Linked DNA regions of Homo sapiens: region 2 is linked to region 1. The links are contacts of gene promoters, found by promoter capture Hi-C in human tissues and cell types (Jung and others, 2019). All regions are on one chromosome and are shown on one strand. Each heading gives the region's core, a stretch centred on a gene start or on the middle of the fragment in contact. The rest is flanking DNA. Distances are from core to core; before and after follow the strand shown.

Region 1 (6,600 bases), core at 3,423-5,922:
GTGGCTTCCATTTGTTAAATAAACCTATCACTCTTCTATTTCTTTCTTTTTTCTTATTTTTTTCAAGATGGAGTCTCTCTTTATCGCCCAGGCTGGAGTGCAGTGGTACTAACTCGGCTCACTGCAACCTCTGCCTGCCAGGTTCAAGTGATTATCCTGCCTCAGCCTTCTGAGTAGCTGGCATTACAGGCATGCACCACCACACCGGGCTAATTTTTGTATTTTTGTAGAGACAGGGTTTCACCATGTTGGCCAGGCTGATCTCAAACTCCTGACCTCAAGTGATCCACCCACCTCGGCCTCCCAAAGTGCTGAGATTACAGGTGTGAGCCACCGCGCCCGGCCTCAGTGTTCTATTTCTTAACTCAAAGGATTTTTACAGGGTTGTTCCCTTTATAACTGTGTGTTAAACTCTACATACCAGTTTTATGCACTTTTGTAATAGTATTAGGTTTATTTCACAATACAATTTTTAGATGGGGCATGGTGGCTTGTGCCTGGGAGGCCAAGGTAGGAGTATCACTTGATGCCAGGAGTTCAAGACCAGCCTAGGCAACCTAGCGAGACCCCCCCTATCTCTACAAAAAATGGAGAAATTAGCCAGACATGATGGCACCTATGTACCTATAGTCCCAGCTACTCAGGAGGCTGAGGTGGGAGGATCACTTGAGCCGAGGAGTTCAAGGTTACAATGAGCCATGATCATACCACCACACTGCAACCTGGGCAACAGAGCAAGACTCTGTCTCCAAAAAAAAAACAAAAATGTTTTTGAGAGAGAAAAGTTGACAAACCTTATGAAGTGAAATTTGGCCCAGCATGGTGGCTCCTGTCTGTAATCCCAGCAATTTGGGAGGCCAAGGCAGGCAGATTGCCTAAGCTCAGGAGTTTGAGACCTGCCTGGGCAACATGGCAAAATCCCATCTCTACTAAAAATAAGAAAAAATAGCCAAGTATGGTTGCGTTCACCTGTAGTCTCAGCTGCTTGGGAGGCTGAGGTAGGAGAATAGCCTGAGCCCAGGGAAGTCAAGGCTGCAGTGAGCTGTGATTGCATGACTGCACTCCAGCCTGGGCAACAGAGCGAGACCCTGTCTCCAATAAAATAAAAATAAGTAAAAAATTTAAAAAGAGGTGAAATTTGTCTTTTGTCTTTTTTATCTTTTATATTATATAGAATATATATTAGAATCTATAATACCATATTATATATATTAGAATCTATATAATACCATATTATATATATTAGAATCTATATATACCATATTATATATATTAGAATCTATATATACCATATTATATATATTAGAATCTATATATACCATATTATATATATTAGAATCTATATAACACCATATTATATATATTAGAATCTATATAACACCATATTATATATTAGAATCTATATAACACCATATTATATATATCAGAATCTATATAACACCATATTATATATATCAGAATCTATATAACACCATATTATATATATCAGAATCTATATAACACCATATTATATATATCAGAATCTATATAACACCATATTATATATATCAGAATCTATATAACACCATATTATATATATCAGAATCTATATAACACCATATTATATATATCAGAATCTATATAACACCATATTATATATATCAGAATCTATATAACACCATATTATATATATCAGAATCTATATAACACCATATTATATAAGAATCTATATAATACCATATTATATATATCAGAATCTATATAATACCATATTATATATATTAGAATCTATATAATACCATATTATATATAGTATATTATGAGGTGACAAATTGTGTACATGATCAGGAAAATTCTCAGCTTTGATTGGCTGGGTTTTTGTTTGTTTGTTTGAGACAGTCTTGCTCTGTCACCCCAGGCTGGAGTGCAGTGGAGTGATCTTGGCTCACTGCAACCTCTGCCTCTCAGGTTCAAGCGATTCTCCTGCCTCAGCCTCCCGAGTAGCTGGAATTACAGGCACATGCTACCACGCCCAGCTAATTTTTGTATTTTTAGTAGAGACAGGGTTTCGCCATGTTGACCAGGCTGGTCTCGACCTCTTGACCTCTGGTGATCCACCTGTCTCACCCTCCCAAAGTGCTGGGATTACAGGCATGAGCCACCACACCTGGCCTGATTATTTGTTTGTAGTAACTAAAGTATCAGCTAGTCTTAAAGAAAAAAGTGATAAAATATACATATTTACAAATAAATGTACTAGGCCAGGTGTGGTGGCTTAAGCCTGCGATCCCAGCACATTGGGAGGCCAAAGCAGGAGGATTGCTTGAGGTCTGGAGTTCGAGACCCCTGGCCAACACGGCAAAACCCCATCACTACTAAAAATACAAAAATTAGCTGATGTGATGGCGCATGCCTGTGATCCCAGCTACTCAGGTGGCTGAGGCACGAGAATTGCTTGAACACAGGAGGCAGAGGTTGCAGTCAGCCAAGATCGCACCACTGCACTCTAGCCTGGGTGACAGAGCGAGACCATCTCAAAAGAAAAGAAAAGAGGTAGTGGTGATGGTTGCACAGCATTGCAAATGTACCTAATGTCACTGAATTATACACTTAAATGGCTAAAATGGTAAATTTTGTTATGTGTATTTTACCACAAAGAAAACTAAAAGGAACTTAAATCTCAGATTTTATCATAATAAAGACAAAAAACAGAAGGTTAGGATGAAGGGGCTGATAGTGGTGCAAGACTGGGACAGGCTCCTGTGAGGTCCTTAGTCTTCACAAGATCCCTGTCTCTCTGGGGGCTGTTTGCCTCTTTCCTGACAGTCTCCCAGAATTCCTGTGGACTGGCTGGCTTTCAAGACCAAAATCAGCTTGTTCACCCTTGACCACACCCAGCCCAGAAAAGACACCTCCATTGGCCTCTGAAATCCCACCACAGAGTCATTTCTTTAGCTACGTACTGATTGCCAGCTCCTCCCCTTTCCCCACACCCCCACCATGTGCCTCTGTATATGGCTGTGTGTTTACTACTGCCTCCTAGAGGAGTGAACTGGCCTTGGCTCTGTGGGACTCCATCATGTTCCTGCATTCTCCCATGTGGATAAGAACTATGCTCACTCAAAGGAGGAGAAAAAAACTAGTAGAGTCTCATTTTTGTTTCTCAATCATTTATTTAGAAAATACTAGACCTTTTGGTAATGTAAAAACAAAAATACCACAATATTAAATTGTCAGGTGAGCAAAAAGAAGATAAAGCTGATACTTCTTAGGCTAGGTGTGGTGGCTCACACCTGTAATCCCAACACTTTGGGAGGCCAAGGTGGGAGGATCACCTGAGGTCAGGAGTTCAAGACCAGCCTGGTCAACATGGGTAAACCCCGTCTCTACTAAAAATACAACAATTAGCAGGCATGGTGGTGGGCACCTGTAATCCTAGGTACTCGGGAGGCTGAGGCAGGAGAATCACTTGAACCCGAGCAGCGGAGGTTGCAGTGAGCCAAGATTGCGCCAGGGCACTCCAGCCTGGGCAACAGAGTGAGACTCCTTCTCAAAAAAAAAAAAGAAATAAAAAAGATAAAGATACAAAGATGACACTTCTAGATGTGGAGCCAAGGCTTAGAACAGGGGAATAATTACTGTGCAACTTCATCGATCCACCCCTAGGTATTTACCCAAAAGAAATGAAAGTATATACCCACACAAAAAGCTGTATGCAAATGTTCATAGCAGACTTTTTTAAAAAAATTTTTTTTTGAGACAGAGTATCATTCTGTCACCCAGGCTGGAGTGCAGTGGTACAATCTCAGCTCACCGAAGCCTCTGCCTCCTGTGTTCAAGCGATTCTCGGATAGCAGTCTTATTTGCAATAGAAAAAACTGAAAGCCCAAATGTCCATAAACAGGTGAATGGGGAAGCAAATTTTGGTAAATCCACACAATAGACTATTATTCATTAACAAAAAAGAATCAACTACTGATAAACATAACAATGTGAATGAATCTGAAAATAATCATGCTGAGTGAAAGAAGCCAGAGGGGGAAAAAAGAGTACATATTGTATTATTTCATTTATATAAAGTCTACAGAATGCAAACTGACTTATGGTGACAGAAAGCAGAAAGCAGATTGGTAGTTGTCTGGGGACAGAGTAGAGAAAGACAGGAAGGATTACAAGGTATGAAGACTTTTTGGAGACAGGGTCTGGGTTTGTTGCCCAGGCTGGAGTCAGCGGCAAGATCACGATTCAATGCAGCCTTGACCTCCCAGTCTCAAGTGATCCTCCCCACACCAGCCTCCTAAGTATCTGGGACTACAGGCACATGCCACCCCACCCAGATAATTTTTTTGTAATGTTTGTAGAGACAGGGGTCTCCCTCTATTGCTCAGCCTTGTCTCAAACTCCTGGGCTCAAGCGATCTGCCCGCCTCAGCCTCCCAAAGTGCTGGGATTACAGGTGTGAGCCACTGAGCCCAGCTGACACTTGCAGGGATAATGGATATGTTCATTATCTTTATTGTGCTAATGGTTTCACAGGTGTATACATATCTCAAAACTCATCAAATTTCACATTTTAAACAGGTGCTCTGTATTGTTTTCTGGAAAGAGAGAGCAAGATCAAGAAAGAAAAAGGAGAGCACAAAAACAGAAAGTCCTCCCTCATCTTTGATATTCTTGAATGCAAGATTGGAATACTCAGATGCCAAAAATCATTATCACTACTCTCATACACACTAACCACTAAGTCACCTACATGGTTCCTTTCCTTTTTTTTTTTTTTTTTTTTTTTTTTGAGATGGAGTCTTGTTCTGTCACCCAGGCTGGAGTGCAGTGGCACGATCTCGGCTCACAGCAACCTCCGCCACCCGGGTTCAAGTAATTCTCCTGCCTCAGCCTCCCGAGTTGCTGGGATTACAGGCACGTGCCACACCGCCCAGCTAATTTTTTGTATTTTTAGTAAAGACGGGGTTTCACTGTGTTAGCCAGGATGGTCTCGATCTCCTGACCTTGTGATCCACCTGCCTTGGCCTCCCAAAGTGCTGGGATTACAGGCATGAGCCACTGTGCCCAGCCCATGGTTCCTTTCTTTACAATATCTCTTGGTATGTTTCTTTCCATTCCCATAGCCACCACTCTGGTGTGATTTCCTTCTCCACTGTTTGGTTACAACCTAACCCTACCCTCAGTTTTCTCCCACTTCAATCCAACATGCTGGTGGCTGCCAGAATAATCTTAACAAATGACACCTCCAACTGCATGATTCCTATTATTCAGAGCCATCATTGAAATATCTATGTAAGTCCACACATGCCTGAAAACAAAAGGTTATAAAAATAAAATGTTAGCAGTGGTTATTTCTGCAGAATAGGATTACAGGTGATTTTTATTATTTTGTTTATCTGTTTTCTATATTTTATAGGAGATTTTAAAATAAAAAAAGCTTTACTGGTCTTGCTTGTTACAAAAGGAATGAACAGTCATTGTAAAATAGTCAAATAACACAAACAATATAGAAGTACAGTAAACTTGGAAAGTGAAGTTTGTTTCCTCCTGGCTGCCAACATTGTGGTTTCCTCCCCAGCACCACCCCACCCCTTCCATCCAGAAAACAGCCAGGCAGTTTGGGTGGGATTATCCCTACCCACAGCTCCAGGAGTGGCTTCTGGAATTATCTAACCCTGAGGTTCTCAATCCTAACATCCAAACCCTGATATTGTAACAAACGTTTCATAACACTGTCTTTACCATCCTGACATCAATAGATCTTATCTTATGATATACCTTCCTGCACACATAATTTTAAGTTGGGAGTCAAGCTTGCTGATATTTTAGTGTTTTCTTTATTTTATATATGTGTATGTGTGTCTTTGTATGCCCATGCAGGCATGTACATATCATACATCCTATTTTAGTTGTTGAGTACATATTACACTTAGAAAAAGTTACATAGGAAAACACCAGAGTTGAAGAAAGATGTCAACCATCATTTTAGAGAACCTTTTGAGTGCTGCATAGGTGAGTGCACACACTTTAAAAATCAATATAATGCTATAAGTATAAAGGATAAATAAGAAAATAATGCATTATAAAAAGATATGTGTTTCAATAAGTAAATGCTTGATGGCGGGCGTGGTGGCTCACACCTGTAATCCCAGCACTTTGGGAGGCTGAGGCAGGAGGATCAGTTGAGCCCAGCCTGGGCTATGGTAGTAAGACCTCGTCTCTACAAAAAAAAAAAAAAAAAAAAAAGTAAATGCTTGAGCACAAGTGTAATAGAAGACATAATGAAGTAATTAGATACTTGCACCTAACAGAATCACCATTTATGTAACAATGTTTATTGAGTACCTACTATGTGCTGGGCACTGTTTACTAGGGATACAGACAGAAATCCTTGCCTTAGACTGGGCACAGTGGCTCATGCCTGTAATCTCAGCACTTTGAGAGGCCAAGGTGGGTGGATCGCTTGAGCTCAGGAGTTCGAGACCAGCCTGGGCAACATGGCGAGACTCTGGCCCTGCTAAAAATACAAAAAAATAGCCGGGCATCGTGGTGCATCCCTGTGGCCCCAGCTACTCGGGTGGCTGAGGTAGGAGGATCGCTTGAGCCTTGGGGGCAAAGG
Region 2 (6,289 bases), core at 3,268-5,767, 480 kb after region 1:
TAGGGTCTTTACTCCCTAATGATGTCTGATTGGCACATCAAGAGTTAACTCTGCCTTCTGGGCCAAATTCGAAATAACCAGTCCATTTTTCCTTTTTTTTTTTTTTTTTTTTAAATGGTGGAATGTCTCTCAGCACAGTTGCGGCTTCCTCAAACCCTGAAAGCATCTGTGTTTATTATACTCGGGTGTCACTCACTGTTGATGTCTGCACCTACGTTTCCACCTCCTCCCCCTCCTTCAGCCAGCCTATGATAACACTAAAGATTATTAATGTTGGTTTTGTATCTCGTTAAAGACAGAATTGTCACTTGTAGTATTTCTGTAGCATTCAGCGCTGCTGTGGCTAACACCACTGTGTATGTTTCATCATTGCTCTGAAGGTCAAAAGCCTCATTTTATTTTGCTGGTTTGATTTTTTTTTTTTAAAGAAGAAAAAAAAACTGCCCTGAATTAAATGGCTGTTTTAACAGTAGGCTCTTAGCATTATACCACATAGTCATTTTTCATGTTCTTGTTTAACAGGCACTGAGGTTCTGGTTTAAATTAAATAGCTGCAAATGAGACAATTTATAACCCATTAGGTTGGGTGGAAAATTGTTTCTCAAAAGCAAATAAGTAATAAATCTGGTATCTGCCTATAACTCACAGTTGATAAGAAAGTGGCCATTTCTCACTAGCACTATATATGATTTGGGCTCTGGGTAATTTGGAAGTGTTAGGTTTGTGTCTTTGTAGCAGTATTTTTATTAGAAAAGAATCTATTGGCCTTTTACAGGGTATTAATCCCTTTGTCACCTACCATTGATGCCTTAAGTTTTCTGAGTCTCAATTAAAAATCTTCCTTTTCTTGATGCATGACAAGTGTAATCAGTACTTGCTCATTTATTTGTCTGTATTTAGTTTATGCTGTACTATTTAATTATCCTTCCAGCGTTTTTTTTTTCTCCTTACAAATATGATACTCTTTAGTGTTAAGCTAAGGCATTGATTCATGTATCTGTCCTTATAATGAATTAATAAACTATTTTCCAGAAATGTGGAATTCTCTTTTGGAACCATTGACCATGACTAGAATTTCCTCAGCCTTTGTGCCCTAGGGATTTTATTTCTTACTGTGATGGGAAATGATGTTGTTGTTGTTTTTGAGATGGGATCTCTCTGTCGCCCAGGCTGGAGTGCAGTGGCACAATCACAGCTCACTGCAGACTCAACTTCCTGGGTTCAAGCAGTCTTGTCACTGTAGCCTCCCTAGTAGCTGGGACTACAGGCACATGCCACCATGCCTGGCTAATATTAAAAAAAATTTTTGTTATAGAGATGTGGTCTCGTTATCTTACCCAGACTGGTCTCGAACTCCTGGGCTAAAACCATCCTCCTGCCCCAGCTTCGAAAAGTGCTCGATTACAAGCATGAGCCACTGCCTCTTGGCCCAAAATAGTGTTTTGTTTGTTTGTTTGTTTGTTTGTTTGTTTTTTCAGACTAATCTCACTTTGTCGCCTAGGCTGGAGTGCAGTGGCATGATCTCGGCTCACTGCAACCTCTGCCTCCCGGGTTCAAGTGATTCTCCTGCCTCAGCCCCCCGAATAGCTGGGATTACAGGCATGCACCACCACACCCGGCTAATTTTTGTATTTTTAGTAGAGACGGGGTTTCACCATGTTAGCCAGGCTGGTCTCAAACTCCTGACCTCAGGTAATCTGCCCGCCTTGGCCTCCCAAAGTGCTGGAATTACAGGCATAAGCCCCTGCGCCCGGCTCAAAATGGTGGTTTTTGAGGGTAAAAAGCAGGTGGTCATGGGAAAGAACTAAACCATCTTCCTCCCTCAACAGGCACTTAGGAAAAAGACGTAAACTTAGGAAAGATGTGTCCTTTGATGGCACTTCCTTAGACTCTCTGGGGATCTCTTTCCATCTGGGCACACATTTCTCTGAACTTTTTTGGGTGCAGGAAAGAGGGAACAACTCCAGAGATTTGGGCTCCACAACTATTCTCCTGTATAACTCTGGTCACCAAAATTACTCATGGCCACACAATCACACACACGTGCACTGTGTGTACAAGCTCAGAGACCCGCACATGCATACTTTGCCTTCACAAACACCCTTGTGTCTGTCCGTTAATGCAAATGTGCACACAGTCTCACACACAAAACTCCACACTCACACCCCACACACATCTTGGCATCACAGTTGGCAGCTGCTGTCTGCTAAGATCTTTACAGAGCCCGGAACATGCTTTCTATTGGAGGGAATCAAGAGCTAGAGGCTGCTTTGCTCAGGACCACCCCCAAAGTGGTGGGCCAGACCCAGAGTTAATTGACAGATCAGACAGAGAGATACTGCACATTTTGCACTCGGCAGAATAGCCATTATTTGCATATCACTCTCAGACCAAGGGTTGTGATAAAGAAGAATTAAACACTTGTCAAAATGAATTTAAAATGACAGCAATTCAAGAGACCAATTTGACCTCTTCAGAGTCCAGGACAAGCCAAGAAGGGGTTGTTGAGAATTCAAGCCCTGCAGGAGGGAGTTCCAGGATTTTAGGCCCAGGGAGGGCCCTTCCCCTCCCTTTCCTAAGGCCAGTAGACCACCACTCCCACCCTTTCTCACAATGAAATCCAATAGGGCTTTGGCACATTGGAGTCCTCCACCTAGAATTTTTCCATTGCTTCCCGCTGTTCACATGCCTCATGTCCTGCTTCTCAGGCTCATCTTCCAGTAGCTGCCCTAGAGTGAACAGTCCTGAGCTATGCCAACCTCATCATTAGTAAACCTGTCCATCTACAGGCACTCTGATTTCTGGAGGCCTGTACTTCCTTACTTATCCGTATCAAAGTTAGTTTTTTGTTTGTTTGTTTGTTTCGAGACGGAGTCTTGCTCTGTCGCCCAGGCTGGAGTGCAATGGTGCAATCTCAGCTCACTGCAACGTTTGCCTCCCGGGTTCAAGCTATTTTCCTGCCTCAGCCTCCCGAGTAGCTGGGATTACAGGCGCCTGCCACCACGCCCGGCTAATTTTTTTGTATTTTTAGTAGAGATGGTGTTTCATCACATTGGTCAGGCTGGTCTCGAACTCCTGACATCAGGTAATCCACCCGCCTCAGCTTCCCAAAGTGCTGGGATTACAGGCGTGAGCCACCGTTAGTTTCGTACATGGTCCCAAAGTTCCAGAGTTGGTATCAAAAGAAAGACTTAGTTTTTCCTCTGCCATCCCAGTCCAGTGCCAAAGGAGCAAATAGCTACATTAGGCCAACTTTTATTATTTATTTATTTATTGAGACAGGGTCTGTGTTGCCCAGGCTGGAATACAGTGGGACTCCAGGCATGCACCGCCATGCTTGGCTAATGTTTGTATTTTTTGTAGAGACAGGTTTTCACCATGTTGCCCAGGCTGGTTTTGAACTCCTGGGTTCAAGTGATCTGCCCACCTCGGCCTCCCAAAGTGCTGGGATTACAGGTGTGAGCCACTAAGCCTAGCCTGCCAGCTTTAATTCTCTAGCTCCTAGAACTTAGTAGCTGCTCAATAATTTTGATGGACTAGTCCATCATGCTGGACTCAACAGAAGACCATTTAATAGAGAGTGGCTGAGATTCAAGATCTCTGAGGGCTAGTATGGGTATGTCTCTGCTAAAAGACATGCTTATCTTCTGTAACATTCTCACGTGGGACCTCTGTTGTCTCCTTATATGTTCTCTGACATGAACGATTGAGGGCCTTCTTTGTGGCACAGAAACGTTACTGGGAATTTTAACTTTCTATGTGCTTTTCCAGTTACCAGGTCATTTGTCAGGACCTCTGCGGTTTAAAGGTCTCTAGGGATGAACAGGAGAGATAAGATTATTTTCATCTTTCAGATGAGCTCAGTGAGAGTGACTGGGCTAGGCAGCAGGCAGAACCCAGGTCGGAAGCCAGGCCCCTTTAGAGCTCTCATTGTCCTGCTGCTGGGTCTGCTCTCTCCAGGCAATCCTCCCCAGCGGAGCGCCAGGACTCCTCGGTCCAGAGAAGCCAAGCTTGCAGCTACAGGATCTATCCTTTGAGTGGAAGGACCAGAAATCCATGGAAAACTGAATCTTTGACAACTTTACGCAGCTTTTTAGAGAATTATCTCTAAAATATGGACTTGGAGGAGGGCGCAGCAGAAAGAGTGGGTCAGAGCAAATCCCGCAGCTGTGTGTCTTTCCGCAGCCCGGACCCACTCCCCAGTCCGCTGGTGTCCACTTCCTCAGCCCCCCAGGTCCCCGGCTGGCCCGCGGGGAGGGGATACCCGGCTGCAGCCCGGGACGGCGCCGGCCGCTCCAGCCACAGTTCAAAGCGCAGGGGGCGCGTCCGCCGCGCAGCCGGGAATGTCCGGCCGCTTAAAGCGCTCGCCGGCTCTTTTGTTCCCCAGACCGGGCCTCCGGGGAGAGGGGGCTGGGGGAGGGGACCGGGAGCAGAGAGGAGGGGGGCGGCGGGCTGGGGAGGAGGGCGGGGCGGCCGCGAGCGGTGCGAGTGTGGAGCGCGCACCCCGGGCGAGGCTGACAGATCGCCCGGGTGGGTGCAAGATGGCGCAAGCGGCGCTCCCCCTGCGCCCCCCGCGCTGCTGAGCAGGCATGCGGCCCCAGTCCCCCACCGCCTGGGCTCGGCCCCGGCCGGAGCCCCAGCCCCGGCCCCGGCGCCGGCCCCGCGGGACGCTGTGAGCCGCGAGAGGCCCGGGAGCCGCGCGTCGCCGAGCCGAGCTGACCGAGAGCCCCATGGCTGTGCAGCGCGCCGCGTCTCCGCGCCGCCCGCCCGCCCCGCTCTGGCCCCGGCTCCTGCTGCCGCTGCTGTTGCTGCTGCTGCCCGCGCCGAGCGAGGGTGAGTGAAAGCGCCCCGGACCGGGCGGTTGCGGACGGAGCCAGGGGAAGGGCGAGCAGGGAGGGAGCGGGCGCGAGGGGCGGACCCGGGGAGAGCGGCGCGGACCTGAGGGCGGACCCCGCGCGGGGGGGACCCTGCGGATCCGGACGGGGAGAGGGTACCAAGGCCGGACTGCTGGGGGCCCTAGGGGCGTGTTGAGGACGGAACCCCCCGGAGGAAGACTGGGGCAGGACCCGGAGCCCAGACTGAGGAGCAAGGAGTGCAGCGAAGCGGGAGCAAGCGGGGCGGGCTGGCGTGGAGACCGAGGGAAACGAGCCAGGGGAGACCGCAAGGCTAAGCGCTGACCGAGGCGGACGAGCTGGGGTGCTGGGTGCCCGGCCGTGGACATAGCCCGAGGCAGCCAAGACAGGGGACAGCAGCCTGGGGAGCGGAGACCGGGACTCTGACGGCTGCACTGGGCGGAGATGGCACGACCTGCATTTGGAGCTGGTACTGGGCTGAGGAGTGCGCGGGAGAGACAGGAGAAGACGAGGGAGATTCCTGGAGGGCGGCGCGTGGCTAGGGAGCGACCCGGGACAGAGCCCGTGAGCCAAGAAGGAGAGGAGAAGCCACCGAAAGCGAGAGCGAGCGAGCCGCGGGGATGCTCACGTGCCCCTGCCCTTCCCCGAAGTGTGCACACGCGGAGACCTTGCCCTGGCTCTCGCGGTCCGCCGGTTCTGCTGCCTGGAGCTCGGCTCTGCTGCCTGGAGCTCGGTCACCACCACTCTGTTCCCTTTAGTGGCTGCAATGGTCCCATCTCCCGGGAGGAGAGTGCAAATCTAGTCCCTTAACCCTCCCACCTCAAGTTCCCCACAGACACTCATCTGGGCTATTCTCTCTCCACTCCTCTCCCAAGAAGTAGAAGCTCGCGTCCGCATCAAGGAAAAACTTTATTCCCGACAGCTATACCAGGGTTGGATTCGGGGCTAAGACGGGTGAACTCACGACATGGGGAGGATGCGCAGGGGTTTGAATAAGTGCGATCCTAAAAAGTCTTAAAACATTACATCTTCCTGGGCCGGGGACGGGGGGAGGGGGGCGCGGGGGGCGCTGGGCGGGGAATGCCTATAACCCCAACGCCCCTCCTTTCTCCCCACCCATTTCCCCATCTCCCTCAGCCAGGGAGGGCCCTAGTCTGCTGGGGAGGGGCCAGCTCCAGGATCGCTAGTTATCTGGAAATGTGAGGAGGGGTCTGTGACTGCCATTTCAGACCAGGTGGGTTCATTCCTCCTCGAGTGGAGTTGTAACTGGTCTGGTAAGTTGTTTGCTGGAGAAGTTGGTGACTTGGCATCATGCCTGGGATTGGAGTGCTTGTCCCTCCAGCCGGGCTTCTGATTCTCTGATTGGCCTTAACCCCATCTATTCTTTGGCCTCCTTCTTTTCCTGCTCATTTCTCTTCTGCAGGAGCAGAGAGGTT

Evidence for each region. The method cuts DNA at HindIII sites, captures the fragments that hold promoters and counts their contacts. A contact is called where the count stands out against the background at its distance.
Region 2: a contact is called between the fragment with the promoter of IGDCC3 here and a fragment that was not itself captured in region 1, in 1 of the 25 tissues and cell types used here (hippocampus).

Annotation. Positions count from the first base shown.
Region 1 is chr15:65,859,220-65,865,819 of GRCh38, reverse strand. It overlaps LOC105370866 (a long non-coding RNA gene), which reads right to left. Exons shown (of 3, transcript XR_932372.2): 3 at 5,337-6,201. Among named protein-coding and RNA genes, the nearest start is that of TRQ-CTG1-4, 6.6 kb to the left of the region's middle. RefSeq lists a silencer at 2,481-2,530. The HindIII fragment of the contact is 3,934 bases long and covers 2,706-6,600 here.
Region 2 is chr15:65,376,230-65,382,518 of GRCh38, reverse strand. IGDCC3 (immunoglobulin superfamily DCC subclass member 3) reads left to right here and starts at 4,517. Exons shown (of 14, transcript NM_004884.4): 1 at 4,517-4,833. The coding sequence starts at 4,731. It overlaps IGDCC4 (immunoglobulin superfamily DCC subclass member 4), which reads left to right. Exons shown (of 20, transcript NM_020962.3): 20 at 1-1,035. The HindIII fragment of the contact is 8,726 bases long and covers 1,965-6,289 here.